Regions from separate parts of the Homo sapiens genome. Here all the other regions are linked to region 1. Evidence: promoter capture Hi-C in human tissues and cell types (Jung and others, 2019). All regions are on one chromosome and are shown on one strand. Each heading gives the region's core, a stretch centred on a gene start or on the middle of the fragment in contact. The rest is flanking DNA. Distances are from core to core; before and after follow the strand shown.

Region 1 (4,011 bases), core at 1,045-3,544:
TTATAACAGCCTAGAAGGCCAGGGACAATTTAGAATTTTCAGACTTTTCAAAGTTATGGGTCAGACACAGAAATAGCAGACCTGGCCAATGAACAGAGCCCCTTCCCTTCCCCACCCAAGCTCCCTCTCTCCTAGGGGGGCCTCTTGGGCACCCACGGGGACTCCCTCCACTCCTACCCAGCCCACATTTCCAAGCACTTTTACGCCCCAGCAAACAGCTGCCCCTTTGTGAGCTCTCCAGGGATCAGGTCTGCCTTCTTTTCTAGGGCTCAGGCCTTAGAAGCTGGTATGGGTCCCTTTGGGCTGGGTATTCATTCCATCCAGGTCTTGGGAGGGAGGGGGCAGCATGGTCTCTGGGTAGCAAGCCCCTTTGGACCTACAGACTTCCAGCTCTGTGGGGAGGGGCACACCCCCCCCCAACCCCCAGAAGGCCAGACTGGGCCCTTTAAACCCAGGGGATAAGGATAAGGGGGTTCTTCCGCCCAGGTCTGAAGGCCATACTGGCTGAGAGCCTTCTCTATATTACACTAACTAGATCAACTTTTTCTTTCCTTGAAGCTTTCTGGGAGGGTGATTCCTATACAAGGAATAAAGATGAATAAATAGATGGTATAAGAGAAGATTCCTGTTCAAAAGGGGTGAAAGAAAAAAAGTTGAAATCTTTGTGGCTATCTAGAAAAAAATTGACAGCTGATATCATGGTCTGAAAGGTAGAAAAGGTAAAATATTCCTCAAACAGCAAATGTGTTGACAGCGTTCTAGAAAGTCTGAGATGGGATCCTTGCCTCATGGCATAACTTGGGCAAACCTTAAACTGTGTTCTTTCTGTGTTTGAAAGTGGATGTCCTACCCAGACCTTTGCAGAGACACCAAAAGAGCTGGATGAAGACCTGCCAGAGGCACCAGGGCAGCCAAGCTGAATCCTAGGACGTGGACACACTGAGTCAAGCTGGGCAAGGGAGGTTTGGGTCCGCTGCAAACACAAAGGCCTGAGGGACCCCCATGGGAGGCAGGCATAGGAGCTCACGGTCAGAGGAGCAGCAACGGCATGGGCTTCACCCCCACAGCTGACCTAGCATCGGCTTTGCCTTTTCTCAATCAGGGCAAGTTGGTCAGTTCTCCAGGCCTCCATGTTTTAATTCTCTAGAATAGCGATATCACCTGCCCGCATCACCAGGTGGTGATGCCCTTAAGAACTTAGCACGATCTGGCACATGGTAAATTCTCAAGATGCTTCATCTAGAACTGAAAGCGTACGGGTCAGAGCTAGCGCTGAACCCAAGATGTGGGTCACCACAGACCCCAAGCTGGGTGTGCTGCGGGCGGAGGAGTGGACGGGGTTTTGAGGAGAGGGGCACACCGGAACACATAAGGTACAGCGGTCAAGAGGTTAAGTGTTACAGGTCCCTATCCTGTTTTGGGGCAGGGGAAGGTGTTGCTTTTGCAAGTCGCCCAGCCAGAGATGGAAAGAACAGGCACCTAAGGCCCCAAGTTGCTGGCATCCGTGAGCTCCGAGGGGGAGAAGGACGAAGCCGCCCTGCACCCCGCTGGGCTCCAGGGCCGCGCGGGTGCCAGTGGAGAGGCCGGGAGGGCTCGGAAGAAAAACGCCCGGCTCACTGGAGTCGGAGACGCAGCCACTCACCCAGCAGCAGCAGCTTAAGCTCACGGCGCGCGTCCTTCTTGTCCCGACGAAGCTGTCGCTCGATCTCCGCGCTGATGCGCTGCGACTCCTTCTCCTCCGCGGACAGGCAGCAGCAGCCGGCCATGGTGCGCTCAGCTCAGTACCCGACGGGGCGACGCGGCCCCGGGCACCCGAATCCTCGGCCCGGCCGCTCACCCGGCCAGCATGCGACGGGCACAGGGGTGTGGAAAGAAAAGACGGGGGCCGACTTGAGCTTTGGAGTAAGACGCCTGGACCTCCGAGGCTCAATCCCCCTTCGAAAGTCGGCTCTGAGGCGGGGTGAATGCCGAGCGCTGGGAACGCTCGAGTGCACCCCGGATCCGGGCTCAGCCCGCCCCACTCTCGCTCTGGGGAGGAGGAGGGCGAGTCGAGAAGTTGGGAGCGTTGCTGGCCCCGGGAAGATGCGCGCGCCCCTTGGCACAGGAGCCGGACAGCAGTCGGGGGCGCAGACGAGTTGGAACGTCGGTGCTCGGGGGAGAGTAGGATCTCCTGGGCCTAGGGGTGTCCCCAGGCGGGAGGTAGGCGCGGAGTGGGTTGGAGGCAAAGGACCTGGCTGGCCTTTGCCTGGAAAGTTCTGAAAACCTCAGCAGTGACCGCAGACTAAGACTGAGTGGAAAGGTTCCCGCTAGCGTTTGTGGCTCTAAGTGGCAGGAGGAGGCGGAGCATCTTGAACCTGCAGCCCTGGCGTCTGCTGGACTTGCCCTTCTGGGCACCCCAAGCCGAAGGCGCCTGGAAGTGAAAGGGGACGAGCAGGGGGCGCGGAGCTGGGGGTGGGAGCTGGCACCTCTAGGAGCAGCTCCCACACTTGCCTCCCTGGCTGGGGCGTCCCGGCCAAGGTTTGCTGTAATCTGCGCGTCTGGCCGCCAGGCACCGGGTTCCGACAGGTGAGTGAGTTTCGCCAACTCACTCGCTCGGAGAAGGCGGCAGCAGGCTGGAAGAGGAGCGGCGCCAAGCGTCTGTTGCGGGACACAAAGCCCCGGACCTGAAGTGGAAGCTTGCCCACCAGCTTCACCACCACGCACACCCGGATTTCCTAGACTGGCTCCTTCCGCTTCCCGGACGCCCCGGCCCAGCTCGGGCTTGGCCAAAGCCCTTGGTCAGCTCGGCAATTTGCCTGTAAAGTGTGGCTGGGCCTGAGCCTGCTGGCTCTGAGCTCGGAGAAGGAGCCGCCGCTGGGTTCAGTTATAAGAGAACTGCAAGAGCCCAGGGTAAATATCCTCTCGGTCTCCGGACGAGGGGGCTGGGGAGAAAGGGAACGGCTGATTGCTTTGCATTTTATGATGGGAAAGACACCTGCTTTGTAGAAAGGGCTGATACGTTCCTAGTAGCACCTGGCAAGTTTCCTGCCCAGCCCTGAAGCCTAACAGCCGCCTTGCGATTGTGTCCGCACTGACACCTTGGCCTGTATCCTGGACCGTCGGGGTCAAGTTTGAGCAGCATTAATAAAAACTTTAAAAGCACCTCTTAGTACTTAAGTGACACGATAAAATGCATATTACAACATCTGACTTTTGTCTGTGTAGATTTTGATGCAGAAAAGGGAAGGTGGGGAGAGGGGATCCTATTGGCCACAGCAATGAACGTTCTTTCCTTCTCAAGTCAGTATAGGCCATATGCTAATGGGGCGTTAGGCAATTAGCTAGCGCTTCCTCTACTAAGAGCAGGCATAAGTGCCTTTCATTTGAGTAGCATATATTTTATAAATTCAAACTGAGGAGCACATTGAGTGGAATGGTACGTGTCATTATATAAAGAAGTTGGTATCGCGATGCTATCTGGCTGCATGTTCTTATTATTTTACAGTTTAAGAAATGTAGAGGAATCAGACATTAAAAATGTGCATACATGCTTTAATGTGTGACTATTTTAGTTTTCTTGCAGGCATAAATTGACAGTAACAGTGACCCCTACAGGAAAACTCCTGGACATTTCAGATTTGATCTTTGGCCATTTAATAGCCTGTTTCTTCTCTCTTAGCTCTTACGGATTCATTTACAATTTGAGAATAAGATCTCTTGGCTTCTCAAAGTCATGGTTGCATCATAATTGTTATCATTTAAAAATTATAAAAAATTTTTAAATGATTAAAACTAGGGCAAATTTGAACTCTTACGTTAACGGGAATTACTGATACTGACCTATTAGGTTTAAAGTTGGCAAGATTTCAAAAACAGTTATGAAACATATTGATTAGGGCAAATCTGTACAACTTTCCTGGGCTAGTCAGCTTGGCAGTATATATCTGAAGCCTTAAACATGTCCGTCCCCTTCGGCCAAACCAGTAATTTCTCCCTTAAGAAATAACTAGAAAGAAGCCTCATGACTGATGC
Region 2 (3,982 bases), core at 524-3,023, 370 kb after region 1:
GTCACTAAATGTAAAGTTGAGACAAAAAAATGATCAAAACTGGCTTTCGTGAGCAGGTACAAACTAGCTGCATCACAGCACTGTATGATTCAAAATGCACGGAGGAAACACTAAACAGCCATAAATATGTTCCAAAAGATTTATATTAACATGGCAAGACATCCTACATATTACTGAATGAAAAAAATCCAATTACACATAGAACAGCTTATGCTGTGTCATCTGTGACACTGAAACTTGTATGTACATTTCACCTTCATTTTGAAAGAAAAAGAACCATACATCAGAGATGTATAACACACTACATTCAATCTAGTTTTGTCCATAACAATGGCAGTAAATCTAGCTTTCATGGAATATCTAAAGCAGATCATGATTTTTATTTTAAAACAGAATAGCAAAAGATCAACAGTTTTGGCTTGATAGTAATTAAAAACTTCTGTATCAAATAATACAAAACAAAAGGAAAACAACAGACTGGGGTTAAGTTTTTGGCAATAAAAATGACAAAAGGCTAATTTCATTTGTAGGTTTGGAGTTCAAAAATAGGCAAAGGAAATGAAGAAACAATTCACAAAAGAAGCAATTCAACTAGAAACAAACATGGGGAAATGATCATTCTCACTAATGATCAATGCAAAGTTTAGAATTATGTACCATTTTTGCCTCCTAACTTACTGATATTCTAATAATATTGTTCATGATGCTGGAAACTGTATACAATCGTTTCAGAATATGTTTTGGGTGTGTATAACCAAGGTTGTAAAATTTTTCATATCCTCAGACCTAGAAATAACATTTCCATGAATCTATTCTAACAAAATTATGTGTGTGCATGTTTTAAAAAGCTATCTCCACCAAGAACTTCATCACAGCATTATTTTTAAAATGAAATCATTGGGAGAAACCTAAATGTACAAAAAAAAAAGAGTAAACAAGTAAACAATATACATCCTCTCAAAAGAATCTTATACAGTCTTTTCAAATGTTAATATGAAGTCTACATAGCCACATAAAAAATGCTTACAACCTAATGTTAAGTTGTACAGTATGATCACATCTATGTAAAAAACATAAAAATAAAACAGACTATAAAGGAATGTGCAAAAAGAGCATGGTTCTTAGTTTAGACTGGTATATTTTTGATAAATTTATGAATATTTTAAAAAGTTTTATTAAATTTTGTGCAAAAAACTTGCATTATTTGTAAAATTTCAAAATCACTGAAAAACAGGCTATAAAAAATAATGTAATTAAATAACAGAATGTGGGTTGTCATTCTTTCAAAGACTAGCATGAAAACAACATAATGTATTTCTTAAGAATGTCAGAACATTAAGTGGAAGAAAATAAACATTTCTTCTCGACTCAAACTTGGACTGTCTATTAAGCACAATAGCTTTTCTCCTTACCAAACTTTTTTTTTTACTATTTTACAAACAACCAAACCACCAAATGACAGTATCTCAAGTGCTCTTATTTCATTCCAAAAAGAGAATAAAAGACAAGGTAAATTCAGGCCACAGCATACTGCTTAAGGATACATTATAGTATAAAACATAAAGAATATTTTTAATAGAAATCATTGTGTCAACCCACAAGTAAGGACTAGGCATGCACAACACATTAATTCTGAGATGGATACACTGTAATTTGAGTAGCAATTCATAGGTAGACTCCAGGGGTTTAGAAACATCCTCCCACCCGCTGCAGAAGAATCTGTTCTCATAACAAGCATGGCCTAGAGTAGAAAGCCCTACAAAAAATACGTTTCTCAAAGGACAGAGCTAGTGATTTTCATGAAAATATACTTTGAATCAGGATTTCCCTAAAGAAATATTGATGAAGTCCTGTAATTTCCTCCATTAAAATGCCACTCTTTACCAAGATGTATTGGATAAGGAAACACAAACTGTTTCTCTGAAAATGATAAAGCAATATACAGGTATTTTCTCCCATATAAGATGAGAAAATGCATGGGACTCATTACTACAAGAAGTGGTATGTGCCCAAAATTTGTAATCGTTTCTAACGTGATCTGGATAACATCTTAGATGGTAACCCATGGCAAAACAGGAGAAGGTAGAATGTTCAGAGGACACCCATTCGTTAGCTCTGAAAGACAGCAAGAACCTTCCACCTCCAGACTCCATGTCAGAGCCAAACTTGACTCCAATAGGAGATAGTGCTTGCCAATTCATTAATTCTTGGACCATTAGAATGTAATTGATAAATAAAAATATAAAGGTTCATTTCAAGTACCTTTTGTTTCTGCACTACTGAGTTTTTCTCTCAAATTATTAAAAATTATTCAAATTAACCAAAACATATGCAGCTTCATTTTGAATGTCGGTCATAATTAGAGACTTTAGGAACCTTTAGGCCAGGTGCGGTGGCTCAAGCCTATAATCCCAACACTTTGGGAGGCCAAGATGGGTGGATCACCTGAGGTCAGGAGTTTGAGAGGAGCCTGACCAACATGGTGAAACCCCGTCTCTACTGAAAACACAAAAAATTAGCCAGGCATGGTGGCAGGCGCCTGTAATCCCAGCTACTTGGGAGGCTGAGGAAGGAGAATCACTTGAACCTGGGAGGCAGAGGGTGCAGTGAGCTGAGATTGCGCCACTGCACTCCAGCCTGGGTGACAGAGTGAGACTCCATCTCAAAAAAAAAAAAAAAAAAAGAAAGAAAAGAGACTTTAGGAACCTTTAAAAATCCTAGGGAAAAAGTCTGCTCTTAGGCTTGGATGTAATGGCCCAGAACATGAAAAAGACACAAGAGAATACATCCAATTGATAGGTGCCTTTTCTCAGCTAAAAGGTGTTATTTCTACATTACATGCCTCCACTTTGCATGAATCTACCTGGCAAGAATATCTCATGCTATTGCTTATTTATTTATTGCCGTGGGAAACTGAGAGCCATTTTACTATAGGAGATGCAAGCCAAGCAAAAGCAGATTTCCTGAGCAAGGATGTCTCAAGAGACATCTCATAACACATCACAGGATTAGCAGAGTTCTCAAAACAGTAATAGATGCATTTCTATCACCTGAAACAGCTGACAGAAAAAAAAACATGGAGGAAACATGTTGCAAATTTTCTTTATACTCTGTCAAGGGTTTTTCTCGGGACACAGCTTCATGAGAGTTCTATGCTCACCTATTTAACCACCTCTGGGAACAAAAGGACAGGAATGAGTACATGCAACACAAACTACTCCCATTCCACCAAGGCGTCTACACTTACTTGCTCATCTCCCAACCCACCATCTGGGTGAGGAAGGGCACAGTGGATGTGACAATGAGGATGAAAACACGTGGTAGGATGGTGGAGGCGGCCAGAAGAGGCAGCATTGGTCTGGCTCTTCCTGATTGAGAACATCAATCCAAGGCATCAGGCACCTCTCCTTTGCTCTTCTCTCCTTCTCTCCAGAGCCCAGCAAAGACACAATGGCGCTACCCCTATTGGCAACAACACCCTCTGCCCTTCCAAGCCCCACGGGACTCCCTATTACTCTACTTTACCCTATGTCTGTTCTTTTCCCTGGCACTCATTCAACTGCAAATGTGAGGTCAAGGTAAGGAAGCCCAACGCTGATAAGTTGATGAGGAGAAGGCCCTGGGCCAGGAGTAAAGTGGGCCTAGGAATGCCAACTGCCTGCCTGGCACCTCCAGTGGAATTAAGCTTTTCTTACATTTCTCCAGAACTAGCATGAGAGTCCAGCTGCTCTTTCTTTGGCCACAGAGTCTTTGTCCAGAATGCAAACGAGGAACACAGGAAGCTGCTTTTTTTTTTTTTTTTTTTTTTGAGACAAGGTCTCACTCTGTTACCTAAGCTGGAGTGCAGTGGCACGATCACAACTCACTGCAGCCCTGACCACCCAGGCTCCTAAGTAACTGGGACCACAGGCATGGGCACCCACGCCCAGCTAATTTTTGTATTTTTGGTAGAGACCAGGTCTCACCATGTTGCCCAGGCTGG
Region 3 (3,975 bases), core at 649-3,148, 400 kb after region 1:
GCAGGGAGCCAGCCTGTACAAACGGGAAGTGGCTAGAGTTAGACATGGAAGCAAGGAAACAGGTTCAGGCCTGGGACCACTCTTACTGAATGAGAAAAAGTGCTGACTTGGGGCTCACATAAATGAAGAAATGACCTGGAGCACAAATCTCGGTTAGGGGGAGGCGTATCAGTTAGATTGGGCTAGGCTATGCTGCAGTAATAAATAATCCTGAAATCTAAATGTCTTACAACAAAATTGTACTTCTTCCTCCGCTGCCTGGCCACCGCATGTCACAGAAGGGCTCCAAACCACATTGTCCTCACCCTGGAATCCCAGGTTAATGATCTACATCATCTACAGTTGAGGCAGAGGGCAAAGAGGGGACTGGATAGTGCAGCGCCAACACTTAAATGCTCTAGTTGGAAGGGATGCATTCATTTTCACTCACATTTCCTTGGCCAAAGCAAGTCACATGGCCGTGCTTAACTTCAATGGACCATGTGACTGGAAATGGGAGAAATGAGAAATGGGAATTTCCATGAGCATTAGCAGTGGCTACCAGGTAATGACAAATGTTAAATTCTAAAGAGGAGATGCTGTAAAGGGGAGAAAATTCAAGGCATTTAACTATAGCTTACCTGGAGTCCAAACTTCTATTTCTCTGGAAATTCTGGTGGGGCTTAATTTTCAGCAGACTGGGAGTCCTGTTCCAACTGAGAGCTTGAGAAGGAGGAGCACGGACATGACAGGGCTGATTCTGTGGCATGATGTCATTACAGAAGCTCCACAGCAGTGGCACCTTGAGCTCATGACTGAATCCAAGGAATTCTAAGCGTGCCCTGGCTGTTAGGGTGGTCACCTTACCTCTTCTTCAAACTCGTACTTTTAGATACTTGTTGGCGAACTGACACTCCCCAAGCAGGGTCATTATAATTTAGCTCTCCTGGGGGTTAAAATCATTTGTGTGCATTCAAATACGTAATAATGTCAAACAGCTGAATGATATCAAAAGGCATGTTTATCTCAGATGAATTTGGGAAATTTAGTTTTAAGTAAGGTAAGTAAAAAGCCACCCTGTCAACTCTTCCTGGTGACAATGACAAAACCACAGACTCTTCATTTCTGGAGGGGCTTCTTGGGCACTTTATAATGCCCAAATATTTGTAGGGCATCTGCTGTGCTCCTGGGACTGTGCAGGGTGCAGCTCCTGACCTTCAGCAATTACGCAGTCATACCAGCAAAATGACAAGAGAAAGTAAGTGCTCACTTACCAAGGCATTTATTTTAAACATAGTTCAAATTTGGAGGATCTTAGGAAGTTTCAGAAAAATGCTGGTTTCACATTCCTGTTAACAAGAAAGAAGCTTGTGGCTTTTCTCTCCTTAATAAGCTTTTCTAAATGAAGAGATTTCTAACTTAAATGTAGTTCATCCAATCTAAAGAGAGGGGAGGGGAAGAATCAAGTAAATTCTGCAGAAATTATTTATTTTACTATAGCACCATGCAAATGTCATGTCAGTGCCAGCAGAAAGTATGAGCTATAAACATTCTCCAGCATGGGATGTATTTTGGCTAATTAACAGTATACAGTCTACAAGTCAAGCTTCTTAACTGATTTGCAAAAGGTTAGGGTTATGAAAACAGGCTTCATGGTCAACACTACACTTTTTTCTTGAATAGATTGTGGTGAACTGCTTGACCAGAGTCAAGTATGTGGTTCAGTTTCTGTCTGCATGGGATCATTTAATTAACTGTGAGCCAAGTAATAAGTGTTTGCATATTTTAACAAAGTGTGAGAAAATGAAGAGCCCTAGAAATGCACTTTGTTCTTTAAAATGTTTTATTCCCTTTCTTGCTCAGCTATAAGAACTGTTTATAAATTTTATCCTTTCAAAACAAGATGTATATGATATAAATGAAATATTTGACATTTATTAAAAATTTGAAGAAATACAAATGTATTTCCAGAAAAACTTTTGTGATGAATTTCTTGCAAATCTTAGGAAGTCTTTAAAAGGGAAGAAAATGCCTTCAGAGGCCTTTTTCTACTTGTCAACGGTCAATTGAGTTAATTTGACCAAAAGTAGAAAGTCTTATACTTTATAATTTACTTTGGTGACATTGTATCTTCATGTAACAAATATTGTTCATACTAGAAAAACAATTCTGGCATCATTTATTCTCAAGCAGGGACTGAAAATGATGATACAGCCATCTCATAGTAATTGTTGCAAAATTGGAGACAATGAAATCTTGTTTTATGTGTCACACCCGTATGCCCAATTCATTGAAAATGTAGTTGTAGTTAGGAGCATCAACAAGTTCAAAAGGCACTAACATTTTTCATGGCTCTGTACTTTAATGGCTCAGTGGTTTGTTGAAAAAGATACAGCTTAAAACATTGGAGATTTAAAAATATGGGCTAATTATAGCCAAGAAATTAAAAATTGAGTACATTTAACAGACTGATGCAGTAAGGCTTTCCTTAAAACTATGTTATTATTTAAAGGGGATAGTTCTTATTTTGCATATTCTCAGCTGAGGTTTTTAATTTCTTCCATGTTTTTGGTGCTTTTAGAAGATGATTATTTTAATTTTGATCTCTCGGTTCCTGGATATAATCTCCCGTCCTCCTATTCTCATCTTGCAAACTGTATCAATTCATATTCTTTGGTGGAGATTTATTTTTCGTTTTAAATTAATTGTCAAGCATTAGTGATAGTATGAAGAAATGGGCATGCTCTTGTCTTATAAATTGGCATTCCTTTTCTGGAGAGAAATTTGGCAACAGAAAAATAAAGCCTGAAAAATACACATATCCATTGACCTACCAGCGACATTTCTAGAAATTTATCTGAAGGATATAATCAGGATGTGAACAAATATTTATTTATGGAGTGTTTATCACAATTAAAACAGATTACACAAAATATGGAAACAACCCAGGAGTTAAATATTAGAGAACAGACTAAATACATTATACCATATCCATATGATGGAATATGAAGTAATTATCATGCCACATAAAAAATACCTAATGATAGTGGAAAAAGTAATATCAGATAAAATTCTTTGTTAAATAAAAAAGTAGGTGTCAAATGATGTGAAAGAATGATCCTAATTATGTTCTAAAAATTTGTATATACACATATACATAATAGGAGTACATACATGTGCTTAGATGGCTGTGCATCAAATATCAGCAGCTGTATTTCTCAGGAGGGGGATTGTGGGTAATTTTTACTTTATATTTTTTGCTCGTCTGTATTTTTATTTTCAAAATAAAACCATTTTACTTTTGAAATTTGAAAAATACCCCAATAATTTTTTTTTTTTTTGAGATGGAGTCCCACTCTGTCACCCAGGCTGGTGTGCAGTGGTGCGATCTAGGCTCACTGCAACCTCTGCCTCCTGGGTTCAAACAATTCTCCTGCCTCAGCCTCCCAAGTAGCTGGGATTACAGGCGCACGCCACCACACCCAGTTAATTTTTGTATTTTTAGTAGAGAAAGGATTTGGCCATGTTGGCCAGGCTGCTCTCGAACTCCTGACCTCAGGTGATCCACCCATCTCGGCCTCCCAAAGTGCTGGGATTACAGGCGTGAGCCACCGTGCCCACCCCCCCGAATAAATTTTTTAAAATATATTTGTCCAGGCATGGTGGCTCACGCCTGTAATCCCAGCACTTTGGGAGGCCAAGGCAGGCAGATCACGAGGTCAGGAGATTGAGACCATCCTGGCTAACATGGTGAAACCTATCTCTACTAAAAATACAAAAAATTAGCTGGGCATGGTGGCACGCGCCTGTAGTACCAGCTACTCAGGAGGCTGAGGCAGAGAATCGCTTGAACCCAGGAGGCAGAAGTTGCAGTGAGCCAAGATCGTGCCACTGCACTCCAGCCTGGGTGACAGAGCAAGACTCCGTCTGAAAAAAAAAAAAAAAAAAAAAAACAAACCCAAAAACATTTATTAGATGCACAACAAGGTGAATGCA
Region 4 (3,582 bases), core at 1,002-3,501, 340 kb before region 1:
AGGCCATATTTCAGACTATCATATGGGGAGAAACCTTGGACAATACCCGGCTTTCAAGGGCAGAGGTCCCTGCGGCTTTCCACAGTGCATTGTGCCCCAGGTTTATTGAGACTAGAGAATGGCAATGACTTTTACCAAGTATACTGCTTGTAAACATTTTGTTAACAAGGCACGTCCTGCACAGCCCTAGATCCCTTAAACCTTGATTTCATACAACACATGTTTTTGTGAGCTCCAGGTTGGGTCAAAGTGGCTGGGTCAAAGTGGCTGGGGCAAAGCTACAAATTAACAACATCTCTGCAAAGTAATTGTTTAAAGTACAGGTCTTTTTCAAAATGGAGTCTCTTATGTCTTCCCTTTCTACATAGGCACAGTAACAGTCTGATCTCTCTTTCTTTTCCCTACAATGAAGGACACAAATAATAGGCATGGTGCTGTAGTCAATTAGATATATTAATATAGAATTTATTGGAAAGATCTAGGTTAGAAATACTAATTTTGGTGTCACCAGCATATAGATGGCATTTAAAGCCATGGAAATATATGAAATAATCTATACAAAGGAAGAGAAAGTATTAGAAGAATTCATAAGTTGAAAATGAAAATGGCAAATGTGTCACCACCTTAGTTTTACTTTCTTATTGGTTGACATTGCTTCAAAGATCTCTCATGGAACTGCCCACAAGTTCATATTTTTTTCCCTTGACTGGATGAAAGTCAAAAGTGTGTCATAGGCTTTGCTGAAGTGATAGCAACATATGCTCTGGGAGGTTTCTTTAAGAAACCTACTTAACAAATCCTTCTCCCCACCTCACAGTTTCCCTTTCTATTTCTTTCTGTAAAAATTTTATTGATTATGAGAAAACCATCATTTTAGAGATTTCAGACTTTTTTTCTTTTTTTTTTTTTTGAGATGGAGTCTCGCTCTGTTGCCCAGGCTGGAGTGCAGTGGTGCAATCTCAGCTCACTGCAAGCTCCGCCTCTGGGGTTCACGCCATTCTCCTGCCTCAGCCTCCCGAATAGCTGGGACTACAGGCATCCGCCACCGCGCCCGGCTAATTTTTTGTGTTTGTAGTAGAGACGGGATTTCACCGTGTTAGCCAGGATGGTCTTGATCTCCTGACCTCGTGATCCACCCCCCTTGGCCTCCCAAAGTGCTGGGATTACAGGCGTGAGCCATCACGCCTGGCCGAGATTTCAGACTTTTAAGTCAAACGTATATTCAGAGCATAAAACATGATGGCATTATGAAAATCTTAGTGTGTAAGATAATAATGGCTGCTTTAACTTACAGGGTAGGAGATGGAAGTTATCTTTTTAAGATAAATATTTGAAGTCTATTTATATTGGTAAGATAACAGATAGAAACTCATAAAACATATAGAAACTTATAAAACATAAATATTATGTTCCACCCAACATGCTGGGGCAGTTGCTATCCCACTGGGCCCAGTTATTAGGCATATTTGTGTGGGGCAGCAAAGACACTGCTTTCTCATGCTCTTCCCAGGTAGAATCCATACAGAATGTCCTGGTGATGCTGCCAACAATCTGCAAGTGCCCAGCTGCCTTTTGAGGCCAACCCTCTAGGGTAAAGTTGGGGCTTCCCTTACTCTAATTCACCTGAGTAGTTGGTTAGCTGCTGTTGCAGCTCACCCCAGAGCCCAGATATTTGTTCTCTCCTGGGCCTCATCTTCTGTGCCAGGGAGAGGCTAGAATTGGTTGTGAAATCATTTAGTCTAATGCATCCAGACCAAGTGGAGCAGCTTGTGATTTCTGACTTGTCAGATTTTCAGTGGTTGCATACACAGCCTGTCCTGACATGTAGATACTGCAGATCAGCAGCCCCAGGATCCTTACAGTTCTTTGAACTTCCTCCACTGAGCTCCTGGCAAAAGTGAAGGAAGAGTGCCAATTAATAATCAGTATTTGAGGTGCATGCGATAGACAGATACTAACTGGAAGACATGGTTTAGAAGTTGTAATATTTATTTTCATCTTATTATATGAACTCTTTTTGCAGTGTCTGCTACATAGTTACAAACTAAGTGTCATGAATAAAGAATGAAGGAATGAAAGCTTAAAAAAAACCCCAAACATTAGTAGTATGTATAAGGTACACATGGACTTAATTTTAAAACACTAAATTAGTGTGTCATCTTTGAAATGCAGTCAAAGAAAGCTTGGTTACAAGTAAAACTTGTTAAATATTGTGGGATTCAAATTATCTCCTTGGGGTCATAACAGCTAAAAATTCTTTTTGTTGTTTTGACAAACTTAGAAGTGAGCCAAACTCAAAGATCTTTTTTACATTATTTCTGTTGTGTTAGGGTTCTCCAGAGAGAGAGAGAGAGAGTGTGTGTGTGTTTGTGTGTGTGTGTGTGTGTGTGTGTGTGTGTGTGTAAAGAGAGGGAAAAGGGAGAGACTTATTTTAAGGAATTGGTGTACATGATTGCGGATGCCACCAAGTTCAAAGTCAGTCTACAGGGTAGGCCAGCAGGAAGGATATCCAGGGAAGAGGTAGTGTTGGAGCTCGAGTCTGAAGGCAGTCTGCTGGCAGAATTCTTGCTTAGAGGAGGTCAGTCTTTTTTTATTGAAGGCCTCCAACTTCAATACAAAGCAATTGGATGAGGTCCACCTACATTATGGAGTGTAATCTGATTTACCTAGAGTCTAGAGATTTAAATATTAATTTCATCTAAAAAATATTTTCACGGAAACATTTTATGTTTGACCACATACCTAGGTACTGTGACTGAGCCAAAGTGACATACAAAATTAACCATCACAGCTATTAAGGCAGGTCTTATGCTGTTGATTTGGGACTAAATTTGTAACAGCTAGGATTTGAAATTGGCTCTTTATTTTTTTTTTTTTTTTTTGAGACAGAGTCTCTGTTGCCCAGGCTGGAGGGCAGTGGCGCGATCTCGGCTCACTGCACTCTCTGCTTCCCAGGTTCAAACAATTCTCCTGCTTCAGCCACCTGAGTAGCTGGGATTACAGGTGTGCACTATGCCTGGCTAATTTTTGTATTTTCGGTAGAGTCGGGGTTTCACCGTGTTGGCTGGGCTGTTCTCTTAACTCCTGGCCTCAAGTGATCTGCCTGCCTCAGCCTCCCAGAGTGCTGGGCTTACAGGCGTGACCCATCACACCTGGCCTGAAATTATTAGCTCTTTGAGTTAGTTCCTAGTTTATGTGTGGACCTAAGCATATTAACCATTTAGCTTCAGTGTCTTATAAATATAAATATCAGGATTGCATTAGCTGGGCATGTTGGTACATGATTGTAATCCCAGTTTCTTGGGAGGCTGAGGTCAGAGGTTGAGCCCAGGAGTTTGAGGCTGCAGTGAGCTAGGATTGCACCACTGCATGCCAGCCTGGGTGACAGAATGAGACCCATTCACTAACTACCTAACTAAATAAATACATTTCAGGATCATATTCCATAGACCTAGGACTTTTTCGAGGTTCAAATAAAATAGTTCATGTAAAACACATTGTGAACTCTAAAATTTTTGGTAAACCAAATGTATCATTTTTTATTCTACATTTGTAAAATGAGGTGCTTACTAACCAAAAAAA

The links. Contacts are between HindIII fragments. The study calls those that stand out against the background at their distance.
Region 2: a fragment that was not itself captured here is called in contact with the fragment with the promoter of GNA14 in region 1 in 1 of the 25 tissues and cell types used here (dorsolateral prefrontal cortex).
Region 3: a fragment that was not itself captured here is called in contact with the fragment with the promoter of GNA14 in region 1 in 1 of the 25 tissues and cell types used here (mesenchymal stem cells).
Region 4: a fragment that was not itself captured here is called in contact with the fragment with the promoter of GNA14 in region 1 in 1 of the 25 tissues and cell types used here (mesendoderm cells).

Annotation. Positions count from the first base shown.
Region 1 is chr9:77,646,028-77,650,038 of GRCh38, forward strand. GNA14 (G protein subunit alpha 14) reads right to left here and starts at 2,295. Exons shown (of 7, transcript NM_004297.4): 1 at 1,643-2,295. The coding sequence starts at 1,766. The HindIII fragment of the contact is 8,690 bases long and covers 1-4,011 here.
Region 2 is chr9:78,017,260-78,021,241 of GRCh38, forward strand. All of the region lies in intron 1 of GNAQ (G protein subunit alpha q), which reads right to left. Among named protein-coding and RNA genes, the nearest start is that of GNAQ, 13 kb to the right of the region's middle. The HindIII fragment of the contact is 5,103 bases long and covers 1-3,982 here.
Region 3 is chr9:78,044,653-78,048,627 of GRCh38, forward strand. No RefSeq gene overlaps it. Among named protein-coding and RNA genes, the nearest start is that of GNAQ, 15 kb to the left of the region's middle. The HindIII fragment of the contact is 4,371 bases long and covers 1-3,975 here.
Region 4 is chr9:77,304,047-77,307,628 of GRCh38, forward strand. The region is part of intron 34 of VPS13A (vacuolar protein sorting 13 homolog A); the gene reads left to right. Among named protein-coding and RNA genes, the nearest start is that of VPS13A-AS1, 130 kb to the left of the region's middle. The HindIII fragment of the contact is 5,520 bases long and covers 1-3,582 here.